Linked DNA regions of Homo sapiens: region 2 is linked to region 1. Evidence: promoter capture Hi-C in human tissues and cell types (Jung and others, 2019). All regions are on one chromosome and are shown on one strand. The core of a region is centred on a gene start or on the middle of the fragment in contact, and the rest is flanking DNA. Distances in the headings are between cores, read along the strand shown.

Evidence for each region. The method cuts DNA at HindIII sites, captures the fragments that hold promoters and counts their contacts. A contact is called where the count stands out against the background at its distance.
Region 2: a fragment that was not itself captured here is called in contact with the fragment with the promoter of LMOD2 in region 1 in 1 of the 25 tissues and cell types used here (psoas muscle).

Annotation. Positions count from the first base shown.
Region 1 is chr7:123,652,629-123,658,719 of GRCh38, forward strand. It overlaps LMOD2 (leiomodin 2), which reads left to right and starts at 3,238. Exons shown (of 3, transcript NM_207163.3): 1 at 3,238-3,608. The coding sequence starts at 3,336. The HindIII fragment of the contact is 15,658 bases long and covers 1-6,091 here.
Region 2 is chr7:123,686,806-123,692,896 of GRCh38, forward strand. WASL (WASP like actin nucleation promoting factor) reads right to left here. Exons shown (of 11, transcript NM_003941.4): 9 at 5,542-6,062; 10 at 2,237-2,345. Among named protein-coding and RNA genes, the nearest start is that of LMOD2, 34 kb to the left of the region's middle. RefSeq lists enhancers at 5,287-5,787, 5,788-6,091. The HindIII fragment of the contact is 4,150 bases long and covers 923-5,072 here.

The DNA of each region.
Region 1 (6,091 bases), core at 1,988-4,487:
CATTGCCAAAAATCAAACCCATTCAAATAAAAAAGATGGGCCCTTGCTGAGCTGAGGTTACACAAAAGCATATGCTACAGGCTGTAAAAAAAAAAACAAAAAAACAAAAAAACAAAAACAAAAAACAAAAAAAACACACAAATGAACTCATTATTTCTAATTCAATCATTATCTCTCTCATTAGCATCACTGAAAAGTGTCAGTTATTTTTGGAGTAGAATATCATAACAAGTTAAGATCAAAATAGCTAGCCAAAACATTCTCACAAGAGAGCAAAGTCAGATAGACTTATACACATTCTGATTTCAAAACTTATTATAAAGCTACAATAATTAAGACCATGTGATTTTGCATAAGGATAGATATATAGATTTATAGAACAGACTTGACTGTCTAGAAATAAACCCATGTATTTACGGTCAGTTAATTTTCCACAAAGGTTCCAAGGTAATTCAATAGAGGAAAGTATAGTTTTTTTCAACAAATGGTGCTAGGACAATTGAATATCTGTGTGCAAAAAGATAAATTTGGGCCAAGTGTTGTCACTCACGCCTGCAGTCCCAGCACTTTGGGAGGCCACGGTGGGGGCAGCATTTGAGTCCATGAGTTTGAAACCAACCACCTGGGCAACATGGCAAAACAGTGTCCCTACAAAAAATAAAAAAAAAAAAGATTAACTGGGCGTGGTTGCTTGCTGTCTCTAGTCCCAGCTACTCCGAAGGCCGAGGTGGGAGGATCACCCAAGCCCAAAAGATAAGAGGCTACAGTGAGCTATGATGGTGCCATTACACTCCAGCCTGGGCAACAGAGTCAGACTCCGCCTAAAAAAAATAAAAATAAAAAAGATGAATATATAACTTTACCTTACATATACACATAAATAAGTCAAAATGGGTAGGAAATCTAAATAAAACTAAAACTATACAACTTTCACAATAAAATATGAGTAAATCTCTGTGGCCTTGGGTTGGAAAAAAATTTTCTTTTTTTTTTAATGAGACAGAGTCTCGCTGTCACCCAGGCTGGAGGGCAGTGGTGCCATCTTGGCTCACTGCAGCCTCGGCTTCCTGGGTTCAAACCATTATCCCACCTCAGCCTCCTAAGTAGCTGGGTTTATAGGCATCTGTCACCATGCTCAGCTAATTTTTGTATGTTTACTAGAGACAGGGTTTTGCCATGTTGGCCAGGCTGGTCTCAAACTCCTGGGCTCAAGTGATCTGCCCACCTCAGCCTTCCAAAGTGTTGGAATTACAGGCGTGAGCCACCGTGCATGGCCAGAAAAAGATTTCTTAACTATAACACCAAGCAATACAACAAAAAAATTGATAAATTGGTCTTGGACTTCACCAAAATTTAAAAAGTTTGCTCTTCAAAATGAATCAAAAGACAAGCCCCAGAATAGAAAAAAAAAGTCATATACCTAATAAAATATTTGTCTCCAGCACATATAAAGATTCTTACAACTCAATAATAAGGAGACAATTAACCCAATTTTAAAATGGGCATAAGCAAGAGATTGAGGCTGCAGTGAGCTATGATCACTCCACTGCACTCCAGCCTGGGTGACCGAGCAAGACCCTGTCTCAAAAAGTTGTTTAAAAAAGGGGGAGGTAAGATTTGAATAAATATTTCACCAAAGAAGATATAAGGTGGCCAATAAACACATGAAATGATGAACATCTTACTAGGGAAATGAAAATTAAAACTATCATTTGACACCCTCTAAAATGACTATAATAGAAAGACAAGCAATAATAGGTGAGGATGTCGAGAAACCGGAACTCTCATTCATTGCTGATGGGAATGTAAATTGGTACAGCCGTTTCGGAAAACAGTTTTTTACAGTTTCTTAAAAAGTAAATTTACCATATAACCCAGTAATTCTGCTCCTACATATCTACTCAAAATAAATGAAAACCTGAGGTTACTCAAACACTTGCATGTAAATGTTCATAGAAACTTTATTCATAGATAAAAGGTAGAAACCCAAAGCTAGAAACAACCCAAATATTCACCAGCTGCTGAAGGTATAATCAGAATATCATGTACTATACATGTATTGATAAATGTATTTTTGTATGCATTAATATTTTTAATAGATTTTACATATCTATAAAATGGTGTTATATTTATGGAGTCCTATAAACTATGGATTTATTTTAACATATACACAACAATATGCTCATATATAATTTCTTTTTTTAATTTGTGCAAATGTATGGAGTACATAAGAAAATTTGTTGTATATATATAATATGTAGTGATTAAGTCATATATATAATTTCAAATTAGCATCTCTTCCATTTTCAGGCCAGATACAAATCTGGGCTCAGATTCTAGCTCTCTCACTTCTTAGCTCTGTGCTCCCATGCTAGTAACTTAACCTCTCTGAGTGTGTACTAGTTAAGTACAGGCACTAATGTACACCTTACAGGACTGTAGAATTAAAGGAGATAATGCTTAACACTGGAATGGCATAATGTCAGTCCTTAATAAATCATATCCAGTATTATTATTTGTATTTTTCGAGTTTCATTTGCAAGTCTAGATTTTTACTAGTAATCATGGTGAGTAGGAAGAAGCATTTCGTTCAGTGGAGAAAGACACCTCTCTGTACTTTCAGCTCTCCAACTTCTGACGTTTCACTTAATCTCTGAGAGCCTCAGTTGCCAACATCTATAAATGAGAATCATGTTATTCATCTCACAGTATTTATGATTAGAAAAACTTATTGAAGTGCTTTGTAAACTGCAAAGTAGGATAAAATTATGAAATACTATATTATTATGACCTTTTGTCCCCATCAATACCACCTACAGTATGTTTATAGAAGAACCAAAATAACTACCCATGGAGTATTGTGGAGACATTTCTCAACCCTAAGATTATAATGAAAGAATCTTTTCATGGCCATGGAGGTGGTGGCAAGTCATTTTCAAAATAAATTTTATTTCCCTGTTGTTTGAATACAAAGTGAGAAGAACTGTGTTACTCCTTATCTGAAACACTCTGCCTGTCCTCATGAGCTATCAGACTCAGCTAAATATGGCCCTGGCCAGTATGTTAATAATCCCCACTGGTTCTGAGACCTCCATCCACCACCGATGTGACATTCTTTGTGTTCAAATGTCTAGCTGACGTCTGATGCTTAAAACAGCCCATGCCTTCACCCCTCTCTGCATTGTCACAGCCCTGTATCACCACTCTTAAAAGGCTCCCACAGCCACTCCTAGCACCAGTTGTTGACCAGCCTGCCACTTGCCTCCCTGCCTGCTTCTGGCCGCCTTGAATGCCTGGTCCTTCAAGCTCCTTCTGGGTCTGACAAAGCAGGGACCATGTCTACCTTTGGCTACCGAAGAGGACTCAGTAAATACGAATCCATCGACGAGGATGAACTCCTCGCCTCCCTGTCAGCCGAGGAGCTGAAGGAGCTAGAGAGAGAGTTGGAAGACATTGAACCTGACCGCAACCTTCCCGTGGGGCTAAGGCAAAAGAGCCTGACAGAGAAAACCCCCACAGGGACATTCAGCAGAGAGGCACTGATGGCCTATTGGGAAAAGGAGTCCCAAAAACTCTTGGAGAAGGAGAGGCTGGGGGAATGTGGAAAGGTAGGCTCTCGGGACTTTTCCTTGGCTAACCCCACCTCCCCATCACCCCATCCCAAACCCAGACACTTGTTTTCCCTAACTTCTCAATCCTCATCACTTGAATTTTCCTATAACCCATTTATACTTGCTACTAAATCATTTTTCAGGCTGAAATAATCATGTAAATGCTATGGCCACCCAATGGATCATAATATGTAAAATTCTTAATTGGGGCTCTTTGATTGATTACAAATAGAAAGCTCAAGAGGAAAATAATTCACAATCAGTGTATGGGATTCAATATTTTGCCAAACATAAGTGTTGTTTGAGCTATATGTTGGTAATGTGGCATAATATTTGTTCCCAAGATACATGCATACGTATAAATGTATACTTTTTTTTCAGTTAAGTACATTTATTTTCTCCTATAAAGACAAAAGTGGGAACGCTGGTTGCTTTGACTGTGATAGTAGCTATGGTGAAATAGTTCTTTTCCAATACCAAGAAGTGTGGGGTGGTGGGAAGTACATGACACTGAGAGTCACAGGGCCTTGTTATGAGTCCCTGCTCTGTTCCCACATCTTTAGACCTTGAACAATCACTTTTACAGGGTTCTCTTTCCCTCTGGACATTGAGGGAGTTAGAGACAGTGTTTCTTTTGCGAATCAAGAACCCCTTTGAGATTTTGATAAGTTATGAACCTTCTTAAGAAAATAGCCCTGGGCTTGTGCAAAATACACCAACTTTTGCATAGAATTTCAAAATGATAACACATCCTGAAACCCATCTGAGGACTCAGGGGCAGCACAGCTGTATAGATGATCTCTTCGATTTCTGTCTCCTTTACGATGGTGATCCTGAGGTTAGGAAATGTGCTTATATCAGAGCTCAGGCCTATAAAGCTCTTGTGTACTGCCCAGTAAACAGTTATTTTGAATTTGCCAAATGAGTCAATACCAGAAGGAAGTCCAAAAGACTATTATTCTCTGGGAAAACAGTAATGACAATAAAGTGTCCATATAACAAAAAAAAAATTCTTCCGGAATTATGGAAGAACATAGGTCAGGAGAAACAGTTTAAAACCCTTGCACTCTGTTGGAATCATCTAAAATCAAAATGGCCTAAAGCCAATGGCAAGACTTCCACAGTACTAATCTAGGGCTGTTAGATGATCTTGATGATAGGGTTATCTTGGCCACAATTGCAGCAAGATATGTGTGAGTTTTGTCCACGTCAATCATTGCAGGAAGGGCCACTGGGATCTGGCCAGGGTCTGCCAAGGCCACAGTACTAATCAGCTAGAAGGGGTGTGTTAGAAGGAAGGACACATACAAGTCAGTACTTGGGCAGGTCAATTCCTCCACAACCATTGTTTTAAGAGGGATTTTTTTTTCTTTGATGTGATAATGAGCATCAAAATAACAATGACATTATCATCACAATTATTTAAAACTCTCTTTAATAAAATAAAACTGGCTGGGTATGCTGGCTCACGCCTATAATTCCCACACTTTTTTGGGAGGCTGAGGCAGGAGAATCACTTGAGCCTAGGAGTTCAAATCCAGCTCTGGCAATATAGTGAGATCTCATCTCTACAAAAAAAAAAAAAAAAAAAAAAAATTAGCTGGGTTTAGTGGAACATTAGCAGGTGGTAGTCCCAGCTGCTCAGGAGGCTGAGGTGGGAGGTTGGCTTCAGCATGGGAGGTTGAGGCTGCAGTGAGCTATGGTTGTGCCACTGCACTCAGCCTGAGCCACAAACCAAAACCTTGTCTCATTAAAAAAAAAAAAAAAAAAAAAGAATAAAACTGTCTCAGAATATCCAGGCTGTACAACCAATGTATCAATAATCCAACAAAGGCTTTTTAATGTCACAATGACATGATAGTGGTGGGAACCAAAGAGCAAAACCTATCGTCAGCCGGACGAACCCACCTGATCCTGCCAAAGGTTTTGCTGATCCCTGCCAATGGCTTATCAGCTCAATTAGAGAGGCTGCTGTGTTGATGGACTTCGGTTCCTTTCTAGGCTATTAACTTTTTCTCCCAGTACTTTCCCTGCTGGCCAGCTGTCTGTAGTTGCCAGGCATGATGAGCAGGAACTTGCTGATGGAGGGTGCAAATCCAATTCCCACAACAGGGAAAATCTTCGAGCAGCTGTTGGGTGGCTGGGGGAGCAAGGTAGTTGCGTAAGTGAAGAGCCATAAAGGAAGGACCCTGAGAAGGAGCGGAGGGTCTTGATTGATTATCAGGCGGCTGGCTCTGTAAAGGCTTATAAAAAGCAGATGCAACACCTGTTGAATGCCAGCCTTTCTGCCCACTTGGGCTTACACAAACTTATGCCGCATTGGGGCTCCCAGGGACCCTAGAATCCCAATGGTCTAGCTCCCCTATTGAGCAGTGGTTAAATCTCAGCACAGGTGCCAATGAGTTTCTCCCATTATCTCACTTCATTTTTAACTTTCTGCACTTGAGAACTGAGACAAGGCAAGGTTAAGAAACTCATTA
Region 2 (6,091 bases), core at 1,748-4,247, 34 kb after region 1:
CATCTGTGAGGATTAGGGCTAAGAATTTAGGTAATTTTCACTGTTTTTATGCTAAAGAAGACTATACCATAAACATAACCATAACTTTAAATACCAGGTGTCTATGTATATCCTACTGACATGCAATTTAACAATTCAGACCTCTCCTGTGACTTCCAGACTCATAACGAAATGCCTACTCCACATCTATAGTTGAATTAATAGGTATCTCAAATTTAATATGTAAAATCAAACTCCTAATCTTCCCTCTCAAACTTTTTCTTCGTAAGTCTTTCCCCTTTCCAGTTGTTCAAGTCAAAAACCTTGGAGTCATTTTGCACTCTTCTTTTTCTTCAACCTTCACTTTCAAACCATCATCAAAACCAGTGATCTCCACATTCAAAATATAATTAATATTTAACCACTTCTCATTGGTGCTATAAACCTGGTTCAAGCCTCCATCACCTCTTGCTTGGATCATTACTACACCTCTGCTAAAAACCCTCCAATGGCTTCCCATCATATGCAGAATAAAAGCTAGTGCACTTTCAGGGGTCTCCAAAGCCTTACCACTGGCCTCCTACTACTTCTTGTATTTCATTCCTTACTATTCTTTCCCTCCCTCCCTTGCAAGCTCCGTGATCTCCTCATTGTTTCTCAACCTCACAGACTTTATATTTTCTGTTCTTTCCATCGGATACACTTTCCCTAGTTTTCTACATGGTTCACTTCCTGAACTGCTGGTCTTTTCTCAAATGTCACCTCAGTTAGGCTTTATTGTCCCTTATCATCCTTTATCATTTCAAAATGAACCTCTCTCTCAACAGTCTGCCCCCTATTTCCCTTTTCTGTTAGACTTTTGTCCTTACTTCATGTCACCATTTAACATACTGTATGTTTTTCTAGTTTTCTTTGTTTATTGCTTGTCTCTCTCTCTCATTAGACCTAATGCATGTCGATGAAGGCAGGGACTTTTTTTTTGTTAAAATTTTATTATTATTCCACAATAAATATTTATCTCTATCTCTGTAATGGAGGGTAGGTACAAATATGCCTATTTAAGGAAAACAAACATTGCTCAAGGATCTTAAGACATGGACATCCTTACAGAGAAACAAAAGGAAGGTAACATTTATTAAGCACCTACTATGTGCTAGGCAATCTGCAGGTTAGTGACATACTATTTAATTCTCACATCTATATGTTTTGTGAGTTCTCTGAATGTAACAAACAAGAAACTGAGGCTCACAGAGATTAAATAAATCTAAGAAGAAAGATCTGATTCTAGCACATCATGTTGGAGAAGCTATTTAGCAAACCTCAACTACTCCAATCAGCAAAACTCATATTCTTGTTCTTTCTTTAAAGGAATATTTATATGGTGGTATGTATATGTTTAATAATAACCTCAGAATAGGTACTGGTTTCTTCAAATCAACCTTTTAGAAAATGAAAAAGAAAGGTTTAAAAAAAGTTAGTATTCTTTAGCAAACTCTAGAAACAGTAAAAATTACTGAAATTCTTATCCCTAATCCTTACAGATGAGGTAAATGGCCCGATTTATTATTATTATTATTTATTCATTTTATTTTTGAGACGAAGTTTTGCTCTTGTTGCCCATGTCGGAGTGCAATGGTGCGATCTTGGCTCACCACAACCTCTGCCTCCTGGGTTCAAGCAATTCTCCTGCCTCAGCCTCCCGAGTAGCTGGAATTACAGGCATGCGCCACCACGCCGGCTAACTTTTTTGTATTTTTAGTAGAGATGGAGTTTCTCCATGTAGGCCAGGCTGGTCTCGAACTCCCGACCTCAGGTGATCCACCCGCCTCGGCCTCCCAAAGTGCTGGGATTACAGGTGTGAGTCACCGCACCCAGCCCTGAATTTTTCATGTCACAGTAATGTCACAGGAATGAGATCTAAAAATCTCAAGCTTTGTTTAGAGGTTGTTTGCTAGGAAGTCTATTAGCATTTCCTGATATAGGAAACAAAACTGTCAATATTCCCAAAGCTGTTCTTTCAATTTATGGCTATGGCTGTGGTGGTGTTGCATTTGTTAAGTCTCAGAGAGACTAGTCACACAGGCAACAACTTTTTAAAATACATCCTAGAGCCCACATCAGTAGTTACTCAATTAGCAGAGAGAAAGCTAGCAAAGACAGTCATAAAAATAACAGAACGTCAAACATTCAAATTTATTAAACACACACGCACACTCTCTCTGTCTCTCTCTCTCTCTCTCTCTCTCTCTCTCTCTACCTGAAGAATGAATGGCTTTGCTCCTTTTCTGCATCACTTCCATTAATGCACCCACAATTCCTGAAGTGGGTGCAGGTGTTGGTGGTGTAGACTCTTGGCCATCAGCCACCTTGGAAAAGAAAGTTAGCAAAACTCAGTAATAAATCTTTAGCCAAGAATCTTTGTCTCCAGAAAGTCCTACTTTCTTAGAATCACTTCTTATTGTAAAAGACAAAAAAGATATCAAACTGGCAAGCGCAGGACAAGATTAATCAAATTAACAAGAAATAAACTGCTGCCTTAAAGATATTATTCAAAAATATTTCCTTTCCATCTTAATGTATAAGCCAAAAATACATTTCCAAATCTATGTTTACATTCAGATAACAAACCCTCTCCTGAATAATACTTGCTGGGTTACTTCTGTTTATTCCAGCACACACAGACTTAGATGATCAACTTTAAAGCTTTTATCAAGGGATTTCATGTTATAAACAGAGGTTAATACTTAGACTCCAGAGTTGTTACGTGGGACGCACACTGAAGATATTGAAAAACAACTGTAGAAACTTATATTTGCCTACAAAAATTCAGCTTTACACCTTTATGTTACATTTATACCTTCAAAATGAACCTCTTTTCTCATAGTATATAATTTCTTTTTAAGGAGATGAGTTGATCAACTTTCAAAATGTACCTGCCTCACTAGGCAAGTAACAATCCCTAACTGAAGTACTTCCAGCTGTGCCAAAGTGCATTCATGAAAAAAAAAATTATAATTAAAGATGAAACAGCATAGCTGTATTAAATAATTACCTATGTTTTAATACATACATATATAATATATATTTTTGAAATTCTTAATCATTTCCCAAAGACAATTTTATTTAGACAAACTTTCCATTTTGATCTGTACAATTCTTCCTCTAATACTCCTTGTTCTTTCTGGAGTAAACACCTTTTTTAAAAAAATTCAAAGTGGTTCCCCCTAAGATATAGATTCATTCCTTAGTATTTTGGCTTTAAACATTATGTATTAACTATTTCCAGTATAGAAGTACCACAAATGAAAAAAGATAACAGAGAGTTTCAGAGCTTTGTATTTCTGCACAAGGCTCTCAAGGAGGTACAACAGCGGTAGGGACATTTAGACTACCTTTAAGCAATGTGATAATGTAAAGCAGAGAGCACAAAGCAGAAGTGAGCATACTCTCATCAAACACATTTTTTGAAGTGCTTACTTGAACAAAGTACTATTTGAGGTACTAAAACCATGGAATTCAAAAATATATGTGAGTATTCAATACCTCCTACTAGCTCTTTAAAGTAAGTCTATGGTTTTATGTTAATCATATTCATCACAGAATAAATTGATGATTTACTCAAAAAATTTAAAGAAACATAGCCATAGAAATTTCAACCACAAAATGGTCTTTTTCAAAAAATAACGAACTCGGATTACATGTATAACATGCCAATAGTTCACTGATTATGCACCCTATGATTGCAATAAATGCAATCAAAAGGAAAGTGATTATTTAGGATAAAAATGGCCCCCATTCTTACACATCAATTAACAGGTTTTGCTGCTTCTTTTTTTTTTTTTGGAAAGAAAGGGAGAGTTGGGATGGGAGAAAGTTATGGAGAAAGTAAATAGAAATTTAACTCTTAAACTTTTTAAAATAAATGAGGATACAACTTTATTCGTTAAAAATTTTAAATCACCTTATTATAGCTAAATGAGAGAAAGAAACAAAGTTGGTTTGTGAAAAGGAAATAGAAAAGGAAAACAAAAAGGTGGGTTAGGAGTGAGAGTTACGGGAATGAGAATGACACAGGAACTAGCAGAGATTCCAAGGTAAAAGCTGGGCTGTGGTCATTTTGACATTAATTCTCCCCACTAACCACTCTTTAAAGTTCTTCAACTGCTCTTGACAGGCCTTTAGTCTGATCTAAAGGGGGAAAGAGAACAGAGATGACTGTTCATAGGTTTAAGTGTCATCCTGAATACATGTAAAGAAAAGAGCTAGATATATTTTAAAGATCAGAGTCTTCTTAGATCTATGCTAATGTTTACATGTTTTCATTCAATTAGTTGTGCTTCCTATCTATTACCCTCCTTTTAGACAAAGTTTCTGAGATCTAGAAAGTTACTTTAATTCCTATACTGGGAAATAATTTTCAATTAAAACATCCTCTGTCGTCTCCATTTACTTCACAGAAAAACTCTATCATCCATGACCTCCCTGAAGTCCTGGAGAACATGTTATAAAAGGCTCCAAAAGAAGTATGTAAATGTAGACAGGTTAGGTTCTAGGATAGGAGTCAGCAAACTTGAGCCCATGGGCCAAATCCAGCCTGTTCTTGGATTTTTTTTTAAAACTATCTAAAAATTAAGCTTGATTTTTACATTTTTAAATGGCTGAAAGAAAATAAGAGTATTTTTGATATGTGAAAGTTATATAAAATTCAAATTTCAGTGTCCAAATATAGTTTTATAGAACACAAGCATGTCCATTCATTTATGTATTGTCTGTGGTGCTTCTGCGGTAAAACAGCAGAGCTGAGTGGTCACAAGAGGCCATACTGCCTATATAAGCCCAAGGTTTTACTACCTGATCCTTTATAGGAAAATGTTTGCTGAACTCTAGAAGATTAAATGACCTGTAAGATTAAATGATTACCTCATCCAAATCAGATAATCCTAAATTTATTTGCCATCACTGTCAGAAATTCTATTACAACTCTTTCAATTTTTTTGGTCTGATTCTCTACTAATCTAAATTTTAGAACATGAAAACTTTGGAACATGATTTAATTTTCATAAAGCTACTGGTTTAGATTTCCTAAGGTGATCACAATTGGTTTCAAGTAGGGCTATTTTTAATTCTCACAGCTTAATAAGGATTTTTCTTTAAAGTACCTTTTATTTGAAAGTAAAGTCTAGAACAATGAATTGCAAACATCCTGTAAAATTCCATTCACATGAAGTTCTAGAATAGGTAAAACTAATCTATGGTGATTAGATCAGTGATTGTTTATGGAAAAATTAACTGGGAAGAGGTATGAGAAAACCTTCTGGGGTGACAGAAATACCCTACATTTGGATATAGAGATATGGGTTACATGGCTATAGAGATGTATCAAAGCTGAATTAAAAATTTGTGCATGTCACTGCATGTAAAAGTATTTTTAAATTTATAGGGTTAAGAATGAATTAGCAAGAGGAAAAAAGAATACACTTTTCAAAAATATCTTTCAATAAATTACTTTAAAATTCCATTATGATAAAGGATCTAAAATGAAAAAAAAAAAAGCTTACTTACAGATTTTAGTTGGATACCCTGTCGTATCTGGTCTAACAGTGCATCTCGTCCAGAGCAGGACACTGGCCGACTGTTCTGCTCCACTTTTTTTAGCTGAGCACCCTCTCTAATTTGATCTAAAAGAGCTGCTTTGTTTCCTGCAGTAGTTGGAACCTGATGGTCCCCATCAGAAGGCAGGCCAGGCGGGGGCGGTGGCCCAGGAGGAGGTGGAGGTGGAGGCGGTGGGGGTGGTGCCACTGGCCCTACCCCCAACACAGATGGAGGTGGTGGTGGAGGCCCTGAAGGTGCTGAGGAGGGAAGGGCTGGAGGTGGAGGAGGGTACATCCTATTTGGCGGTGGTGGAGGGACTGCTACACTTGGCCTGGAAGGAGGCGGTGGTGGAGGTGCAGCTGTGGGAGCTCTTGAAGGTGGTGGGGGAGGAGCGCCTCTTCCCCTAGCAGGAGGAGGAGGAGGACCTGAGTTGTGTGGAGGGGGAGGAGGAGGAGGTGGCCCTCCCCTTGATGGTGGTGGAGGTGGTGGTGCTGAAATGCAAACAGAAAAAAAGAAGGCA